2 separate regions of the Homo sapiens genome follow, and region 1 is linked to region 2. Evidence: promoter capture Hi-C in 16 types of primary human blood cells and fetal thymus (Javierre and others, 2016). All regions are on one chromosome and are shown on one strand. The core of a region is centred on a gene start or on the middle of the fragment in contact, and the rest is flanking DNA. Distances in the headings are between cores, read along the strand shown.

Region 1 (5,836 bases), core at 2,773-5,272, 580 kb after region 2:
TACTTAGCCACGTTAGTCAGGCTTGTGAACACTTCTTGGTCTCCTTTTTCTTCTCTAAGAGTCCTGGGGTTTGCTTTAAATCGTTTCCTATTTTTATGTATTTCTAGCTGGTCATTTAAGCTAAAGGCCTACAATTGGTCCTAATGATCATAATGATGACAAAATCGATGACGATGCTGATGGTAATGATATTGGGAGTCATCCCAATAATAACCAGCGTATATTAAGTGATGGCAGAGTTCTGAGCACTTCATGTGAATCAATTCTCAAAAACTCTATGAGCCAGGAGATAATATTATCATTTCCACTTTACAAATGAGGAAACAGACACAGAGACGTGAACTAACTGGTCCCATGTTCCTTAACTGAGATGAGTTTTGAGTCCTGGCAGCCTAATTCCAAAACCCATGCTTTTTTGTTGTTGTTGTTGTTGTTGTTGTTGAGACAGGGTCTCCCTCTGTCACCCAGGCTAGAGTGCAGTGGTGCAGTCATGGCTCACTGCAGCCTCAATCTCCCAGGCTCAAGCCATCCTCCCAACTTGGCTTCTTTTCTTTCTTTTTCTTTCTTTCTTTCTTTTTCTTTCTTTCTTTCTTTCTTTTTCTTTCTTTCTTTCTTTTCTTTCTTTCTTTCTTTCTTTCTTTCTTTCCCTCCCTCCCTTCTTTCCCTCCCTCCCTTCTTTCCCTCCCTCCCTTCTTTCCCTCCCTCCCTTCTTTCCCTCCCTCCCTTCTTTCCCTCCCTCCCTTTTCTTTCTTTCTTTCCTTCTTTCTCTCTCTCTCTTTCCTTCCTTCCTCTCTCCTTCCTTCCTTCCTTCTTTCCTTCCTTCCTTCCTTTCTCTCTCTCTCTCTCTCTCTCTCTCTCTCTCTCTCTCTTTCTTGTCTTACTCTATCACCAGCCTGGAGTGCAGTGGCACGATCTCAGCTCACTGCAACCTCTGCCTTCCAGGTTCAAGCAATTCTCCTGCCTTAGCCTCCGGAGTAGCTGGGACTACAGGTGCATGCCATCATGCCCAGCTAATTTTTGTATTTTTAGTAGAGATGGGGTTTCACCATGTTGGCCAGGATGATCTCAATCTCTTGACCTCGTGATCCACCCATCTCGAACTCCCAAAGTGCTGGGATTACAGGCATGAGCCTCCACACCCGCCACCAACTTGGGCTTTCAAAGTGTTGCGATTAAAGATGTGAGCCACCATGCCTTGCCAAAAAGGCAACACTTTGCTGTGGAAGTGCTTTGCCTCTCAGCCTGAACATTCTCTCCTCCTCCTTTTCACACTACATTCAATCAATAAGAAGTCTCAATTTTATACCCTAAATCTATCACACATTTATGTGTTTCTCACTCTTCCTTCTGTCCCATGTCAGACCCTATCCCCTCAAATCTGAACAATGGCCACAGTTCCTAAATGGTTTCCTTATCTCCAATGTTAGTCAATTCTACTTCTTATAAAGTATCTTTTTATAATTTTTCCATTTTTCTTTAATTAAACAAGTAACTGTAAGAATACAGTATCATCATAATACATCCAAGTACTACAAAATGTTTCATGTAATAAGCAAAAGTTCCTCTTCAACTCTCCCTTCCTCAGAGGTAACTATGACTACCAATATAATTTATATTCTTATAGGCCTTTATATACAACACATGGGTCTAAAAATACATAAATGGGAGCACATTACACATTTTGTTCTACACCTTGCTTTTGTTAACAATATGTTTTGTAAATCTTTCCCTGAGCTTACTGCCTATTATTATTATTATTATTATTTTTAGATGGAGTTTCACTCTTGTCACCCAGGCTGGAGTGCAATGGCGTGATCTCGGCTCACTGCAACCTCTGCCTCCTGGGTTCAAGCCATTCTCCTGCCTCAGCCTTCAGAGTAGCTGGGATTACAGGTGCCTGCTACCATGCCCAGCTAATTTTTTGTTTTGTTTTGTTTTGTTTTTTTGAGACGGGAGTCTCACTCTGTCGCCCAGGCTGGAGTGCAGTGGTGTGATCTCGGCTCACTGCAACCTCTGCCTCCTGGGTTCAAGTGATTCTCCTGCCTCAGCCTCCCAAGTAGCTGGGATTACAGGCGCGTGCCGCCACACCCGGCTAATTTTTTGTATTTTTAGTAGAGATGGGGTTTCACCGTGTTAGCCAGGATGGTCTCCATCTCCTGACCTCATGATCTGCCTGCTTCTGCCTCCCTAAAGTGCTGAGATTACAGGTGTGAGCCACTGCGCCCGGCCTCTAATTTTTGTATTTTTAGTAGAGATGAGGTTTCACCATATTGGCCAGGCTGGTCTTGAACTCCTGACCTCAGGTGATCCACCCACCTCAGCCTCCCAAAGTGCTGGGATTACAGGTGTGAGCCACCACTTCTGGCCACTGCCTATTATGGATGTACCATAGTTTATTAATAGTTTCTCTGTTTCTTATAGGATATGTCAGTTGTCCCTCATTTTTCATTATTACACTGATAAATAGGTGATTTTTATTTTCTTCTTTGTGCTTTACTGTATTGTCCAGATTTTCTACAATGACTTTTGTAATTTTATACAGATTCTCCTTCCTTTTCATTGGATCTCTGAAGGAGTTTAGAGGTCATGTTGTCAAACTTTCTCTATTCTTACAAAGGCAAAATTCAATCCCAGAAAAGAGAATTGGATTGGCTAACCTTAGGTCACATGTCTATTCCACCCAATCAATTTAGACCAGGAAAGCAAGATCATACAAAGCAAACATTGCTGCCAGGGGCCCATAGCTACTGATAGAGGAGTGTGGGACTGTTCCTAGAAAATGAGGAGGCGAGGCAGGTGTTGATTTCCTTGTAAGGGCATTTCTGTAGCATCTGCTATGGTTTGAATGTTTCTGTCCCCTCTTGGAACTTAATCTCCAAACAATAGTATTAATAGGTGGATCCTTTAGGAAGTGATTAGGTCGTGAGGGCTCTTCCCTCTTTTTTTTTTTTCCTTTTTTGAGATGGAGTTTCGCTCTTGTTGCCCAGGCTGGAGTGCAGTGGCACCATCTCGGCTCACCACAACCTCCGCCTCCCGGGTTCAAGTGATTCTCCTGCCTCAGCCTCCCGAATAGCTGGGGTTACAGGCATGCACCACCATGCCTGGCTAATTTTGTATTTTTAGTAGAGATGGGGTCCATGTTGGTCAGTCTGGTCTCCTGACCGCAGGTGATCTGCCTGCCTCGGCCTCCCAAAGTATTGGGATTATAGGCATGAGCTGCCATGCCTGGCTGGCTCTTCTCTCTTAAATGGGAGTAAGGCCTTTATAAAAGGGGCTTCACACAGCATTTAGCCCTTGTTGCCTTTCTGTCCTTCTGCCACATGAGGACACAACAATAAGGTGATGTCTTGAAGCAGAGAGAGTAGCCCTCACCAGGCACCAAACCTGCTAGCCCTTGATCTTGGACTTCTCAGCCTCCAGAACTGTGAGAAACAAAATGCTATTACTTATAGATCACCCAGTCTCAGGTATTTTGTTAAAGCAGCACAAACAGATAACATTCTGTGTCAATGGGTACGTTTGAGGACCATCTGGATTTCATTCTGTAAAGCTGAGTGCCTGAGTAGAGATTGTGTTTTGGTTCATCATTCAAGTACGTATTGAACATTTCCTACGAGCCAAGCACTGTTTTAGAATGCAACCAAGCCAAGCAAGCAGGAAGCTTACATTCTGGCAGAGGCAGAAAAACAATAAACAAAATACATGAGTAAAATATATTTGGTTTACTCAAGTAAAGCAATAACATCAGTATAGAATAAAACCAGGCAATAGAAAGGCTTCATATACGGAAGCTGTGGTATGTGACTGATGACAGTCTGGAATTAGCCTTACAGAGTCTAGAAGAGATCTAGGTGCTTATCTGGTTTAGTGCTTGCCCTGGAAATCCACAGTGAACATCTCTTCCTTTTTTTTTTTTCTCGCTCTGTCACCTAGGCTGGAGTGCAGTGGCATGATCACAGCTCACTGCAGCCTTACCCCCCTGGGCTCAAGCAATCCTCCTGCCTTAGCCTCTCAAGTAGCTGGGACTATAGGTGTGTGTTACCTTGCCCAGCTAATTTTTAAATTTTTTGTACAGAGTCTCACTATTTTGCCTAGGCTGGTCTTGAACTCCTGGTCTCAAGCCTTCCTCCTGCCTGGCCTCCCCAGGTGTTGGGATTGCAGGTGTGAGTCACTGTGCCTAGCGCATCTCTTCGTTTTTGTTGCTTCTCTGTGACACTCAAATCTTCCTACTTTGTATTTCTGTTGTCTGTATACAGCTCCACTGGATAATAAAACTTGATCAGGAACTACTTATTAGATGTTTAATAAGTGTTAAATAAATGAAAGAATAAACTAAAAAACAAGTTTTCCAACAACAGTTTATTGTAGTATGACAAAAGCTTCTACTGATTTCTTGGCAGTAAGATTTTTTTTAACTTTGTTTTCTTTTTATTAATTTATTTTTAGGAAAACCATTATCTCCTTTTCCTAACCTCCCATTATCCCACCTACCTACCTAACATCACTGACTTTTGCCCCAGTATATTTTGACATTTTGAGGGCTGTGACTATCTTTACATTTATTTATTTTGTAACTTTAAAATTGGGTTTGTCTATTAAATATTAGTTGAAAAGCTTAAAGGACCACCTCCTCCCCTGCCAGTACTTCCAGTACTTTTTTTTTTTTTTTTTTTTGGTGACAGTTCTCACTCTCTCACTCGGTTGCCCAGGCTAGAGTGAAGTGGTGCTATCCTGGCTTGATGCAACATCTGCCTCCCAAGTTCAAGCCATTCCCATTCCTCAGCCTCCCAAGTAGCTGGGATTACAGGTGTGTGCCACCATGCCCAGCTAGTTTTTGTATTTTTAGTAGAGGTGGGGTTTTGTCATGTTGGTCAGGCTGGTCTCAAACTCCTGACCTTTTATTTGGGGAAACATTGGCTGCTATATAGAGGTGTGACATTTCTGATGGATTTATTCCTTTTTTTTGAGATGGAGTTTTGCTCTGTCCCCCAGGCTGGAGTGCAGTGGCATGATCTTGGCTCACTGCAACCTCCACCTCCCATGATCAAGCGATTCTCCTACCTCAGCCTCCTGAGTAGCTGGGATTACAGGCACATGTCACCATGCCCAGCTAATTTTTGTATTTTTAGTAGAGATGGGGGTTTCTCCATGTTGGCCATGCCGGTCTCGAACTCCTGACCTCAGGTGATATGCCCACCTTGGCCTCCCAAAGTTCTGGGATTATAGGTATGAGCCACTGTGCCTGGCCTCTGTCAGTAGTTTGTATGCCTTATATTTTGGCTCCATCTTTTGCCTACATTCTGAGAGCTTTTATTTTAAATTTCCGTCTTCCAAGGAGGTCTTTTTAATTCTAACAGAAAAGAGATCATGGCTCTCTGGAAGAAACCAAGAAAGATTTCCAAATTAAGGTCTACCTAGGTCTTAAACCAACTAATGATGATAATCATAGCAGATATACATTAAGTGTTAACTGTGTGCATAATAGCATGTGTGTTACAGTAATAGCTGAACCCTGTGGAATAACTGCTATCTGTCAGGCTTTGTGCTAAGTGCTTTCGATGTTTCAGCTCAAATGATGTTCACAATAACTTAATGTAAGGTTATGTAACTTTATGCGACCCTGTCACCAGGGCCACACAGCTGGTGAGAAGTTCTTGGGTTCATATCCAGGTAGTCTGGCTCTGATGGCTGCACCTCTATCTACTAAACTGCCTGTTATTTAAATATGTTTATTTCTAAGTCAGGTGTGGAGTCTCCCAGTTCCTTATCAAGACACTTCCAACCTCTAATCCAATTTGGGTCTGGCCACGGGAGCTTCACATAATTATGAATAGTA
Region 2 (6,565 bases), core at 2,507-5,006:
ATGAAAACTGACAAGCATAAAAAGAGGAGTCAAAGCATCTCTCACCAACTTTGGACAAGAACATTTTAGACACAGATCAATATAAGAAGAATGTTTACTATCATTTAAATTGTTCTGGAATAATTACATGGTTTTAATAAATGGACTGTAAGCTCATCTACAGCACTAGCAGCTTTCATAGCATTGCTAGTAAAAAAAAAAAAAAAAAAAAGAGGCAATTAATGGCTTCTCAAAGAACCATGCTTCAATGACTCAGGAAAAATCCCTCTCTGTCTTTGCCTGAGAGGTTTAGCTTACTGTCTACAGATATCGGTGAAATAGGGCCAGGAAATCTACACAAGTCAAAGTTTAACATATGGATATCTTGTTGCATTTTCAATACTATCAGCAAATTCAGAAAGTCTTCTCAAAAGATCAAGTTTAAAGACATTTGAGATGGGAATATCCCAGACTACAGTTAAGACACTTATTGGGCCATTCTCTTCCAGATAGAAAAAACAGTGAGGAAAGATTCCAGGCTCTTCATTTCACTGTGGGCAACAATTACAGGAAGACAGCAAATTACTTACTCAATCACTCGTGGCTCAGGAGCTCTACGTACTACCTGCAAGGAAATAGGCGGATCTTACTTCTGGGATGTTCTTAATCCTCAAGGATACTGACTTACCATATCTTCCCATTTCTGGTCAAAATAAAGTTAAAAACTATCTCTTTTCTATTCCAACTTCTCACTAACCCACTAGAGACCCTTGTCTCCACTCTTCTTAAAACTACTTCACATTTGCTAGTAGACAGTAAAAGAAGATACAATTATTAATAGAATAAATTTTCCTAGCAGCCAGCAGCTCTGGAAAAATCTTGACAAGATTTTTTAAAATAGAAAATATGCTATAAAATAAGGAGTTTTAATAATTATTTATAGGGTTGTTACTATGGCAAGAAACCCAACTTTTTAACTTTTCCACATTATTAAAAAGTAAATCTTCACTGTTTCCTACATTTTTCCTCATGGGAAAAAAGGGCTAAAAATCAGGCATTTTATTGTAAAAACTGAAATTTTAATCCAATTCCAAAGATGGTGAAGTGCAATAGCACTGAAGACAGCACAGTTTTAGGACTGCTGGAGCTCAAATAACCAATGCAAGCAAGCTCTCATTATGGTGTAACCTCCTTGCCAAAAATACGGGAATAACATGTGACCATAAACTGGGAGCAGACTACGAAGAATCCCCAGACATAGAAAGGAACTGAAATATTTCTCATTTCATTATTATTATAGTTCTTCTGCTCTGCTATTAGTGAATTTATTCAGTCATTATTTATTTGAGTGTCTACTGTGTGAATATCACTTTTCTAAGCAAATTTTTATCACTATTGAAGAAAAAACCATGAATTTACCTGCTGAGGTTCTTTGAACACAAACTCTCTGTCAGAGAGATGATGCTCTTTGTTCTTCCAGGTCTGGCCAGGCTTCTGGTGGAGATGGCTCTTAGCAGTGGTAGCTGAAGCAAGAGAGGGGACAGCCTCAAACCAGGGGAAAGTCTGTTCTCAGCACCTTCTACTGAGCAAGGGCCAATAAAGCCCACTTGGAGATGATCTCTATGACATGTAGAAACTAACTGGTAAAGTCAACAGAAGATACTGAAAGGTTTGAGGGTGTGGACTAAATATGAGGAACATTAAAGACCCACCCTTAGCTCACCATCAACAAAATCGGACAAAATATCAGCCACATTTTAAACAATTCCTTGACGTCAATTGAAATGGAAGTCCATTATAAACCAAAAGGATATAAATAAAAGAGAATGAGAGTTGTCCATATCCACACACACACAAAATCCCTACAGATTCTTGCCTGGCTGAGCAATGGCCTGGCTTTTAACAGGGGCAGCCCAGGCTCCCTGAACTCGGGCTCGCCGTCTTTTTTCCTCCATGTTGACCAAAAAGGCTTCTGCTCCGAGCTTTCAGAAGATTTTGTTCCTGTTTCAAACTACTCCATGGTATCTGTTTATTAAAACAAAACAAAACAGTGCTTTTAGTTAGGATTGTGAACAATTACTCCTAAGGCATAATTAATTTCAGGCAGAAGACTCTCAATGGCAATAGAGCTTCCATGTAAAATCAGTTTATGTCATCACAACATTTCATTCAAGAAGCCTAGTCATTTGGGGCTGCTGGCTTTAGCATTCACCTTTTGTAATCTTACCATAGTACTTTTGTTTCTTTCACAAGAAAGTGCATTTTAAGAAATTCTAAAATTAGGACCTATTATAAACCACATTCCTCTTAATAGTCCCCAAGAGTAGAATATAAGGAAACTGTACTATTCCCATTTTCACCTACATGGACATTGAGAAATCGGCTAAGACTGTTTCCAAGCATATATTCCATTATCACTGGCTGCATCAAACTTCCCTGGAAGTTTGTTCAAAATACCTATGGCCCACCTTCAGAAAATCTGATTTAGGATGGATACAGGTATTTGTCTTTATAACAAGCAGTGTAAGATTTGACACAATGCAGGTATGTATGTGGACGGTAAAGTTCAATGATGCACCCAAAGCCACTCAGGAAATCAACAACAGACAGATTAACATTCAACTTATATTAAACTCCTGTCTCCAGCTAACGGATAAATCCACCTCATAATGGCTAATAATACTAATTTGACAGTTGTACCAGTAAAAGCTTAGCCTACAGCAAATGCAGAAGCACGTACAGCTACCAAAACAACAAGGAAATTCAAGCCACATGTTCCACATCTGTAATCTATTTCTTTATGCTTCTACCTAAGAAAGCTTCACACCTCAAGTTCTCAAAGGTAAAAGCTCGTTTTATATTAATAGCTTGCTTAGACTATAGATTCCCAGGTCCCATCTCCCACCTCTTCTGATTCAGTAGAGCTGAGCCAGGCCCAGGAATCTGTGTGTTTAACAAGTTCCCCCAGATGATAAGCATGTAATTCATTTCATTTAATAGGTGGAGAGACGCAGAGGCTGCCATCTGCCCAGAAGAGTTAATGACAATCAAATACCAATTCTCCAATCCCAGGAGCTCCCGTTTGACATGTTCTCTCAATTGAGGCCCTAAAAGCGTAACACAATTACCTACAGTCCCCGCAGAGGATACGACTTGCTCACCTTCTTGCTCCATTCACTGGGGAGCCATATGTTATTTGCCAGGGAACAATTGTTGAAAATAGATTCCAGAGCCCCATCCCAGATCTACTCAATTTGTAGAGTCCCAGAATTTGTTAACTAACGCCACCCTCAACCCAGGAATTCTTAATGCACATAAAGCTTGAGAACCAGTGCTGTAAAATACAAGGACTCTGGCGCCAGCCAGAACTCGCTTTGAATCCAGATCTGTCACTTCCCAGCTGCATGGCCCATGGCAAATGACTTCACCTTTCTGAGCCCCAGTTTTTCCTCAGTAAACAGGGCAGTCACTTTCCGCACGGTTGAGGTGCAGACTAAGCGAGCTCCGCAGGTGGAAGAGCTTGGTCGTGGATAAGGGCACTTCCTTTTCCTAATTTAGATCCTTCTCTTTAAGGAGGCCTAGAATGAGGCCCCGGAGGTCGCCCAGGAAGAGACTTCAGGGGTGGTACTCGCACCCCCAGCCCCGCGCACCCAGCAGTAAGTCAGGAAGGCGCACTTGCGGGCGGAGCCGGGCGCGCCCGTGCAAACCCGGTAGGACTTGGGGCAGCCCTCGCAGCCCCTGACCCACTCCGCAGTCTGTGATCGGAACCTTAAGAGTGAAGCACCGACTCCAGCAACTCCCAATCACAGGCCGCGGCATCAGGCACTTCCTCTCGACGTTACGCAGCGCCGCCACTACTTCCGGTGCGCAGTCCTCAGTCCGGGTAGTCCCACATCCCCCGCGCCTGGAGGGCCTAATCACCGAAGGTGCTGATGAGGGGATATGTGTTGCAGCGGACAGGGATTGAGAGTGCAGGGGAGCGGTGTGAAGGGGTCGGGGTTTGGCAAAGGTGGAAGTGAAGGCGTGTCTCCTACGTGAGTTCCTCGAAACTGGAGATGTCCAAGCATCGGCATCTTTGTGGCAGAAAGAGTGACCGGGTCCCTGTGGGACTAGATAAAGGGAGAGGAGTTTGGGGGACCTGGTTATAATGTGTTAGGCAAAAGGATTTGCATTTTATCCTAAAAACCACGGAGAGCCTGAAATGAGCCTCCTTTGTGTTCCTATTGCAGCCTGTGCACACCTCCGAACACAGCATTTACAGCAGGGCGTAGGACCACGCCTTAATTCACCTTGGCTCTCTCCAGTGCTAAGCAAATTTGCTTGAGTGAACAGACCTACATTTTGGCCCAGACACCACCACTTACTAGTTGTATAATCTAGGGCAAGTACTCTGCCTCTTTTTAAAATGGGTATCGCTCTTTTTGGGAGGATTAAGTGAGATAATGCATTTAAAGAATATAGCACAATGCCTGGAACACAACAAAAACTCAAAAAATGAAAAAGAGCTCACCCCATTTGAGCTCATGAGAAACATCTTTAAAATGGTCATGTTAAACCATGTACTTTACAGTATGAAAATAGCAAAAGTAGCACTGAATTGACTGTTTTATGCAAGTCATTCTCTAAGATCCGCCAAAGTATAGTCACTGTGGAAATCTTTAAAATAAGCCTGATATGAGTGTTTACCTTCAGGAAGCTCATTATAGGTACACCTCATCAATGTGTACCTATATTGTTGCTACTATCAAATCCATTTTCACAGCACTCATTATTATTTGTTATACTTTGTGACACTGAAGGAAAAAAATGATTTATCCTAGACCTGAAAGGAGAGAAAATGCTAAGGCCACACTACAGTTTTTTTCCCCCATCAACTAATTTGTCAATGTCTGCTTCTGGCTCAGGAACTTTGGCTGTATCTTCTAAAATATGTTATTTCTTTCTTTTCAATGATTATAGTTTTGGAACAGGAACAAAGAAGTCTGGATTGAGGAGTTCCTAAAAGTAGTGATTGACACCTCTTCAGCCTCTACGTAGTGTATTTCTCAAAGATCAATCCATGATTTACTTGCATCTGAAATTACTGCTTTTTTTTTGTTTAACAGAATCACCTGCGTTTTTAACAAGCACCCAAGTGATTCTGGTGCACAAAAATTTTGAAAACCTCTAGGACATATGTAGGATGACAAATTGTTCTGGTTTGTATGGGCCTGAGGAGTTTCCCAAGACACAGGACTTTAAGTGCTAAAGCCAGGACAGTCCTGGGCAAACTGAGATGGTTGGTTACCCTAGACGATGCGAGTATATAGTATTAGATGTTCTTAATGGTCTTGGCATCCTCATTAGGGTCTTGACTTTCTTATTTCTATTTGAAGTGTTTGAGTTTTTATCAGGAGGTGGTGGTAGAGACCATGGGAGAAGGAATGAAGGCGAAGTGTGTTGCCAATTATCAACCTATTGAGTCTCCATTCCAAACCCACCCTTCACTACCCTGTTTGCAATATTGGAAGGTTTCTCCCTTGCCTTTTGGTTCAATGGACAGTGAGCTTCATCAGTGGAGGGTACTGGAGGAACTTTAGAGGAGGAAGGGGCTCTTTTTTCTGGTTCCAGTGTGCTCCTCTCAGCTGGCTCTTTAGTGCACAGTGGCCCACAGTGTTTGACTACTCCCTGTGGGCTGAATTACCAGGTTAGTTTCTCTTCTGAAAGTTAAGGCATCAATTGGGAAGGAATGGAATCCCAAAATTTGAAATAAGCACTCTGCTTAGACCCAGATAACTGACAGTCTTGAACACCCATGGCACCCTGAGCCTTCCTTGGCAGTGGAAGTAGCTTGTCCTCCTAAGTCTGAGGAGACTAGTCATTCTTTGCTTGAAGACACTGCTAAGCCCTCAGCTGGGGCAGATGACTTCAAAAGGGAAGCTCATTCTCTACAAGACCCAGCAGAATTTACTTCCCCTTCTTCTGCCTCATTGCCACTAGACCCTAACTAGGTTCAAACCTCATTAATGCTCCAGGTAGGCTGCTACACACTATGATCTAGGATAAAACAGCTTGCACGCTGAAAGAACTATACTAATTACACGTACTTTGCTAATGTATGGAATGTGTGGAAGTGGATTCTAACTGTTTTAAACTAAGGAGGGCAGTATATAGTACTATATCAGGCCAATTATATGGAGGCATTTACTAGAGTGCATTTACAGACATTGTGTTGACTCATGCAACTGGAAATGACTCTAACAGCTTATTTGGTGGATTTATTGAAGATTTAACTCAACAGTAGTCTATGGTTAATCCTACTGAGATGCCAAGGCACGATGTAGAGGCGGGAACCCAAAGACTGAGAAGGGTAGAAATGTTGGACTGAATTTATCAAATGTGACCCTGACCCACGTGCAATAGACACAAACACAAAAACTATATCCTACAACAAGATCCAGAAGATGCTCCTTTTTCTAAAGCATTGAGAAATACTTTAGACAAGGGAGCACTTGCATCCTTGGAAAGCTCTGTGGTTGCTCTCCTTTGCAGGCCAGGTGTGATCATGGAAGATGCCACCATTGAGTTGGGTCCCCTGGTTTTACTG

Evidence for each region. Contacts are between HindIII fragments. The CHiCAGO score rates a contact against its expected background, and 5 or more counts as called.
Region 1: a fragment that was not itself captured here is called in contact with the fragment with the promoter of ALKBH3 in region 2 in 4 of 17 cell types (non-activated CD4 T cells, naive B cells, total CD4 T cells and 1 more); the score reaches 7.1 in non-activated CD4 T cells.

The regions. Positions count from the first base shown.
Region 1 is chr11:43,301,590-43,307,425 of GRCh38, reverse strand. No RefSeq gene overlaps it. Among named protein-coding and RNA genes, the nearest start is that of API5, 7.5 kb to the left of the region's middle. The HindIII fragment of the contact is 718 bases long and covers 3,664-4,381 here.
Region 2 is chr11:43,878,022-43,884,586 of GRCh38, reverse strand. It overlaps ALKBH3 (alkB homolog 3, alpha-ketoglutarate dependent dioxygenase), which reads right to left and starts at 3,756. Exons shown (of 10, transcript NM_139178.4): 1 at 3,408-3,756; 2 at 1,856-2,004; 3 at 1,399-1,502; 4 at 570-604. The coding sequence starts at 1,934. It overlaps LOC105376644 (a long non-coding RNA gene), which reads left to right and starts at 3,850. Exons shown (of 3, transcript XR_001748200.2): 1 at 3,850-3,905; 2 at 6,511-6,565. RefSeq lists an enhancer at 3,771-3,970. The HindIII fragment of the contact is 7,136 bases long and covers 3,302-6,565 here.